2 separate regions of the Homo sapiens genome follow, and region 1 is linked to region 2. The links are contacts of gene promoters, found by promoter capture Hi-C in human tissues and cell types (Jung and others, 2019). All regions are on one chromosome and are shown on one strand. The core of a region is centred on a gene start or on the middle of the fragment in contact, and the rest is flanking DNA. Distances in the headings are between cores, read along the strand shown. Region 1 overlaps KSR1 (kinase suppressor of ras 1). Region 2 holds the start of KSR1 (kinase suppressor of ras 1).

Evidence for each region. Contacts are between HindIII fragments. The study calls those that stand out against the background at their distance.
Region 1: a fragment that was not itself captured here is called in contact with the fragment with the promoter of KSR1 in region 2 in 4 of the 25 tissues and cell types used here (hippocampus, neural progenitor cells, small bowel and 1 more).

Annotation. Positions count from the first base shown.
Region 1 is chr17:27,613,457-27,616,690 of GRCh38, forward strand. All of the region lies in intron 18 of KSR1 (kinase suppressor of ras 1), which reads left to right. Among named protein-coding and RNA genes, the nearest start is that of LGALS9, 16 kb to the right of the region's middle. The HindIII fragment of the contact is 8,988 bases long and covers 1-3,234 here.
Region 2 is chr17:27,454,757-27,457,858 of GRCh38, forward strand. It overlaps KSR1 (kinase suppressor of ras 1), which reads left to right and starts at 1,692. Exons shown (of 21, transcript NM_001394583.1): 1 at 1,692-2,118. The coding sequence starts at 1,888. RefSeq lists silencers at 1,222-1,981, 2,502-2,551 and an enhancer at 1,357-1,858. The HindIII fragment of the contact is 18,960 bases long and covers 1-3,102 here.

The DNA of each region.
Region 1 (3,234 bases), core at 329-2,828, 160 kb after region 2:
GATTGAATATCAGGCCACCACACACGAGCTGAAGAGGCCAGGCTCCTCCCCTGCATAAGGCGCGAATTCCTGGTGGCTCCACCCTATTCCCCCAGTGCATGTGGGTCTCCAGTCCATTGTGGGTGTACCCAGGCAAGACCCTGTGCAGGTTCCCTCATCTGCACAAAAACATCTGTTGTAAACACTTGTGGGGCAGGATGGAGGTTCTCCAGGGACCCTTCTTTATCTGCCTCCTGCAACTGTCAGTGGGCTCAAGATACAGGTTTTGGGCTCCTGGCTGTGGCTGCAGCCTCCTTGGCTGAGCTCTGGGGCAGCTCAGATGGCAGCTGAAGTAACCACTGCTTTCCAGTCTTTTTAAATTTTTTTTGAAGCAGTTTTGCTCTGTCGCCCAGGCTGAAGTGCAGTGGCACGATCTTGGCTCACTGCAACCTCTGCTTCCCAGGTTCAAGTGATCTCCCGCCTCAGCCTCCAAGTAGCTGGGATTACAAGCATGCACCAAAATATCCAGCTAATTTTTGTATTTTTAGTAGAGATGGGGTTTCACCATGTTGGCCAAGCTGGTCTCAAACTCCTGGCCTCAAGGGATCCATCTGCCTCAGCCTCCCAAAGTGCTGGGATTACAGGCATGAGCCCCCATGCCTGGCATAGTCTTTTAAAAAAATATTTAAGACATACATATCATAAAACCTAGCTGATTTTTTTATTGTGACTTTTTCCACATGACATTTTATTATGCTCATTACCTCAAATCATTAACAAATCCTTATTGTTAAGACTGTCTGCCCTTATGTCCTGTGGCCGCACCATAATGTAACTACTTCTGTCACTGGACATGGGGATTCTTTCCAGTTTTAACCTCTCTTTACAAGAGTTAGCAAGGACATCTTTGTATAAACCAGAGTATTATGTATATTTGTTGCATCTGAGAGAAAAGATATTCTTCGTTCTGCCCTCCTGGCAACAGTTTGTTTCCTTTCTGCATACTTAGCATCTTGGAGCAGAGAATGGTAAGTGCCATCTTCAGGGAGGCAAAGGCTGGAGCAGAGCTGAGCAAAGGGCTGCAAGGGAGTCAAGGCTCGGCACTGGCTGCAAGTTGGAATCATCTGGGAGCTTTATAAAAATGCCAGGGTTAAGGCCTCCCCCACAGAGGTACCAATTAAATTGGCCTGGGATGGGAATAAGATCATAGTTTTTTTATTTTTTATTTTTAAATAAAGCTCCTCAGATCATTCTAGAGCACAGCCAGAGTTCTGAACTAATTGGAAGGATTTCTTTTAGTGCGGGGTGATGGTTGTTTTGAGACCAGTGTGGGATCAGGGCGTGGGGAGTGGGGAGAGAGCAGATGCTCCGGCAGCAGCTTGTGGCTCACAGGAGTTCCCTTTCTTTTGTCCAGTCTTGCCTTCCCTTTTTAACACATTGCTATTAGGGGTAGGGGAACATTGGTCAACGCAATAAAATTATTTTCTGTCATAGACAAAAGCTGGGAGTGCCCTCTGAGTGATGCCTTTCTCTGTCTCTCCAGCCACACTGCTGTATAGTTCACCACCAGGCACTGCTTTATGTGCTGAGGCAGCCAGTGAGTTATTAATCATTGTATTTAAGGGTCCATGCATATGGGAAGACATCAAAAGACCAGAGGGTTCTTAATGAAAACCAGCAGTCCCTCACCCTAGATCATTCTCCAAAGGCATCACCTGGGTCTATCAGCTTTTCACTCTGGCACTCCGTTATTTCTGCTGCACCACTTTGGTCAGCTCTCCCATTACTTATTGTTAAGGTTGCCATGATTAAATCTTCCATGCTGTGCCTGTTGATGGAGGCTGAAAGTGAAAAGATGATGAACAGTGTATACACTACTATAGTAGACTGTAAGTGGTATTAGCCACTGGTCAGATGATTCACTGGGATTACATTTTCTTTGTGGGTCCATCTCTTCCACTTCATCAATTACTCAAAGGCTCACAATTTTGTTGGCTTCACATTTGGACCATGGCTTTCTTGTGCAGTTTAGGTTTTTCCTGTAGTTTCTAATTGCCTTCTTTTTTCCTTCTTGCCTTTTCTTATTGCTGAGAGAAGAAACAAACACCTTTCTCATATTCCTGAGGTCTTTCAGCTTCTGCATTCTGCTTCCTAAATGGAATCTGTTACATTCTTTTCAGAGTCCACTGGTTTCTTGTCGTTGGAATCAATGGGATATTAGGCCTGCTGCACAGCTGTTACCCTTCTGTTTTCTTTTCATTCACTCCTGGGTCAGTTGCACTATTCTTTATGTCTCATATCGTGCCCTCTCTTTATTTGCACTCCAGCAAATAAACTGCGAGTGAAACCTGAAAAAACTGCCTCCCAGTGGAAGAATGGGAGATAATCTTTGAATCCTTGCATGCCTAAAATAGTTATTATTTCATCCTCATATCAGGAGTAGAATTCCAGATTCATAATAATTTTCCCTGAGAACACAGGGATTTTGCCCTGCTGTCTACTAAGTGTCCAGTGCCTTGTTGAGAAGTCTGGTGTTGGTCTGATTCTCAACCATTTGTGGATGCCTATCTTACTCTTTCTGGAAGCATCTAGGATTTTCTGTTTATGCCTGCTATAGTGAAATTTCATAAACATATATCTGAGGGTAGAGTTTTTTTGTGTGTTTGTTTGTTTTTTAACTGTTTTTAGTGAGGTCCCTTTATTGGACCTTTTCAGCTGAAGACAGCTGCTACCTTTGAAAGCTTCTGGTAAATTTTCTTTTATTATTTCTTTGATAATTTCCTGCCCAATAGTCTGTTTACTTTTGTGGAAATCCCCATTAGACAGAATTTGGTTCTTCTTAGTGAGCCTACATTTCTCTTACCTTCTTTTGTATTTTCCATCCCTTTCTAGAATTGAGCCTACAGTCTGGGGGATTTCCTTGATTTTTATCTTCCAGCACTTTTAATGTTTCAGTTCAGAAATTATATTTTCATTTCAAGCACTTTCTTATTTGTTGATTTCTTTTTTATTGCAGCCTGGTCTTGTTTTATGGATAGAGCAGCTGCTTCACACAAATGTACACACACACACATGTACACCCCATATCCTCCAGAGACAGTATCTTGATCTGCTTATCTTTGATCTCTCTCTGGTTTTCCTGATACGGCAGGCAACCCCATGGGGTCCAGTTGTATTTAAGAGCAAAAGCCTGAGTTGCTGAGTCTGTGTGGGTGTATGTGTCCTGCCTGGTCGTATGTGCAAGAAATAGGCCTT
Region 2 (3,102 bases), core at 442-2,941:
TAATTTGCAAAAACAAGTTTTAAAGTTATAGTTTTGCTTCCTAGACCTGATTTTTAAAAATTTATTATTTTTTTTAGAGACAGGGTCTTGTCACATTGCCCAGGCTGGTCTCGAACTCCTGGCTTTAAGTGATCCTTCCCCCTTGGCCTCTCAAAAGTGCTGGCATTACAGGCATGAGCCACGGTGCCCAGCCCTTAATTTATTTCGAAGGCTGGTGTAATATAAACATTAAAGGAAGGTGTAATACAAACTGCCATCCATTATTGATTGTTTTAGTGTCTACAAGGTTTGGATCCCACCTCCTGTCCAATTCTCATCCTCAAACACAAAAACAAAACCAAAAAAACAACTGTCTATCTACACACACACACACACCCTCGGCTGGCCTGAGAGGTAAAAGAAACATCCCATAGGACCTGCTGAAAGAGCTCCTGAGGCACGCTGGAGCCTTTCTTGTGTGCCATGCACTGTATCTGGCACTATAAAGAGGGTACAATAGCTAGTGGCTTCTGCAATCAAGCAGCTTACAAGAGAAAATTGAGAGGGGAGACATTTTTTCTGGTTGACAGATGTCGAAAGCATGAAGGTGTGGGAGCTTTGATCAGAGACTTGGTTTTTCAGTTTTGCCAGATAATAGAACGCATGGGGTGAACTAATGGGAGAGGAGGGTGAACAGATGGGCAAGGCTTGATTGCTGGGTTAGGAGGCACAGAAATGCACAGAGGACAAAGGACTACCAGTCCTTGGCAGTACTGTACTGCTCCATGGCCACTACCTGGGTCCAGGGCCACATTCAGATCTGAGGTTAGATAGTAAGAATTGCTAACATTTATCCAGCGACCACATGTGCCAGTAATCAATCTAGGTGCTGTACATGTATTAACTGATTCTTCATAGGAACCCTATTAAAGAGTTATTTGATGAGGAGAGTCGGGCATTCACTGGAAATCGAACGTGCCCAAAGTCTCACCCTAGACCGTGGTGGAGTCAGAATTTGAATCCTGGCCACTTGCTCCGAAGCCACCGACAATTCAGTGTGCTGTCCCCCGTGTCTGGGCTGGCTTGGTGGGCTGGGAATGGCGGGGGAATGGGACACTTATTTTGGCAGGTAAATGTGGTTCAGAAGAAAGCTCTTCGTCTTTCTCCAAGCCTGAGCAATCGTTTTGGCGCAGGCAGTCCAGAGTAGAGCGCTTTGTGAGCCAGCTACAGAAGTGCTGTAAGCCCCTTCCCACTAGATGGCAGCCCCTAAACCCACATACAAATCCTGGAACCTCCCTGGTCCCCATCTTCCAGGGCTGGGCTGCAGCTGAGGAACTGCGGGACGCACACCCGCCGGGCGTCCAGGGGGCGCCGCCCCATCCGGGGGTCGCGGGAAGCTCCTAGGCCGGGTGGGGGACGGAGGCGGACGGGGAGACGCTGCTCCCCCGACTCTCGGCGCCTGGGGGAGGAGCTGGCGCGGAGCAGCTCCACCCGGGGCTCCCGGTTGGGGCCGGCCCTCACCGCCTGCCTCGCCGCGGCCGCCGGGAGGGGAGGGGAGAGGAGGGCAGGGAGGGCGGCGCGGGCGCGGTCCGGGGCCCCGAGGGCGGAGGCCGGCGGCAGGTGCGCGGCGTGGACTACAAGTCCCAGCATGCCCGGCCGCCCTGACCCAGCCCCCGCCGCCGCTTAAAGGCTCCGGGAGCCGCAGCCGTCGGGTCGCCGCGGCTTTCGCTTTGCTGCCGCGGCTGGGAGGGTGGAAGCGGCAGACTCAGCGGCCGGCTCTACCGGCGTCCCGGCTCGGGCAGCGCCGAGGGGCGCTCCTGGTCCAGCTCTCCTGGCTCGGGGGTTCCTTGCCGAGGCGCCCGCGCCCCGGGCTCCCAGCCTCGGCCGCCGCGGCCCCGATGCCGAGGCATGGATAGAGCAGCGCTGCGCGCGGCGGCGATGGGAGAGAAGAAGGAGGGCGGTGGCGGGGGGGATGCGGCGGCCGCGGAGGGAGGCGCAGGGGCCGCGGCCAGCCGGGCGCTGCAGCAGTGCGGGCAGCTCCAGAAGCTCATCGACATCTCCATCGGCAGCCTGCGCGGGCTGCGCACCAAGTGCGCTGTGTCCAACGACCTCACCCAGCAGGAGATACGGACCCTGGAGGTAAGTGGGTCGGGGACCAGGCTGGGCTCGAGGAGCGGGCCCGGACACCTCCCTCCGGGCCCCAGTACTCCTGGCCGAGTTGCATCCTTGAGCCCGCGTCGCCCCCCTTGGAGGCTTCCCCTCCCTCCTGCACTCGCTGATGCGGCAGCCGGAGGACCCGGGACCAGCCCTCATCTTGGGCAGGATTTGTGGGGCGGGTGCGTCGTGGGAACTGGGATGGAGGCTCGAGGGGCCCGTGCGGGGTGGGCTGCGCGCGGACATCCCCTTTCCCCCCTTCTCCGCCCCCACCCCATTTCCAGTTTGCGGGGCCGCAGGACTCGTTGTCCCACCGAGTCACAAGCTGGACTTTTCCCCGTGTGACTGAGCCGAGCACCCGTGGGCCAGGGTGACGGAGGAGGTTCCCCTGAAGCGTGATCGCAGGCCTGCCGTCCCCTGTTCCCCTCACGCCCCAGACGCCGTCCTGTCCCTTCCTTTCCTCTCCTCTCAGGTCTTGTCTGCCGCCTTTTCAAAAAGTGTTGCTGAAACTGCATTTTTGTTATTCAGGCGTTTGGTGCTTTCCTTTCACGTTGCCACGGAGGCTCGCTGCTTAAAATGTATTAATAATTACCCGCTGACTCCCCCTGCTTCCCCCCAAAGATTGGATTTAGGCTTAGGAAGGATTATGCTGGGAAGCAAGCCTTTGGTGGGAAGATGAAACTGTTTAAAGGGTTCTGATGGAGACAGTCTGGAGTGTAAAGAAGAAATAAGATATGCGGGCCTTCCTCTCTCAAATTATAGCTGGGGAAGTATCTGAAGGATTTGGAAAAACCAGCCCGAGGGTTGTTGGGGCACCCTGTCCATACACAAATGAGGGCAACTAGTGGATTCTGAATGTGATTTTGGCCAGGGACGGGGCGGTGAAACGTCAGACCAGTTAATAGCTGCCCCGTCTTGAAGAAGGAACCTCTCACCATCTTGCCCTGCCACATCTGGCCTCCTGCAGGT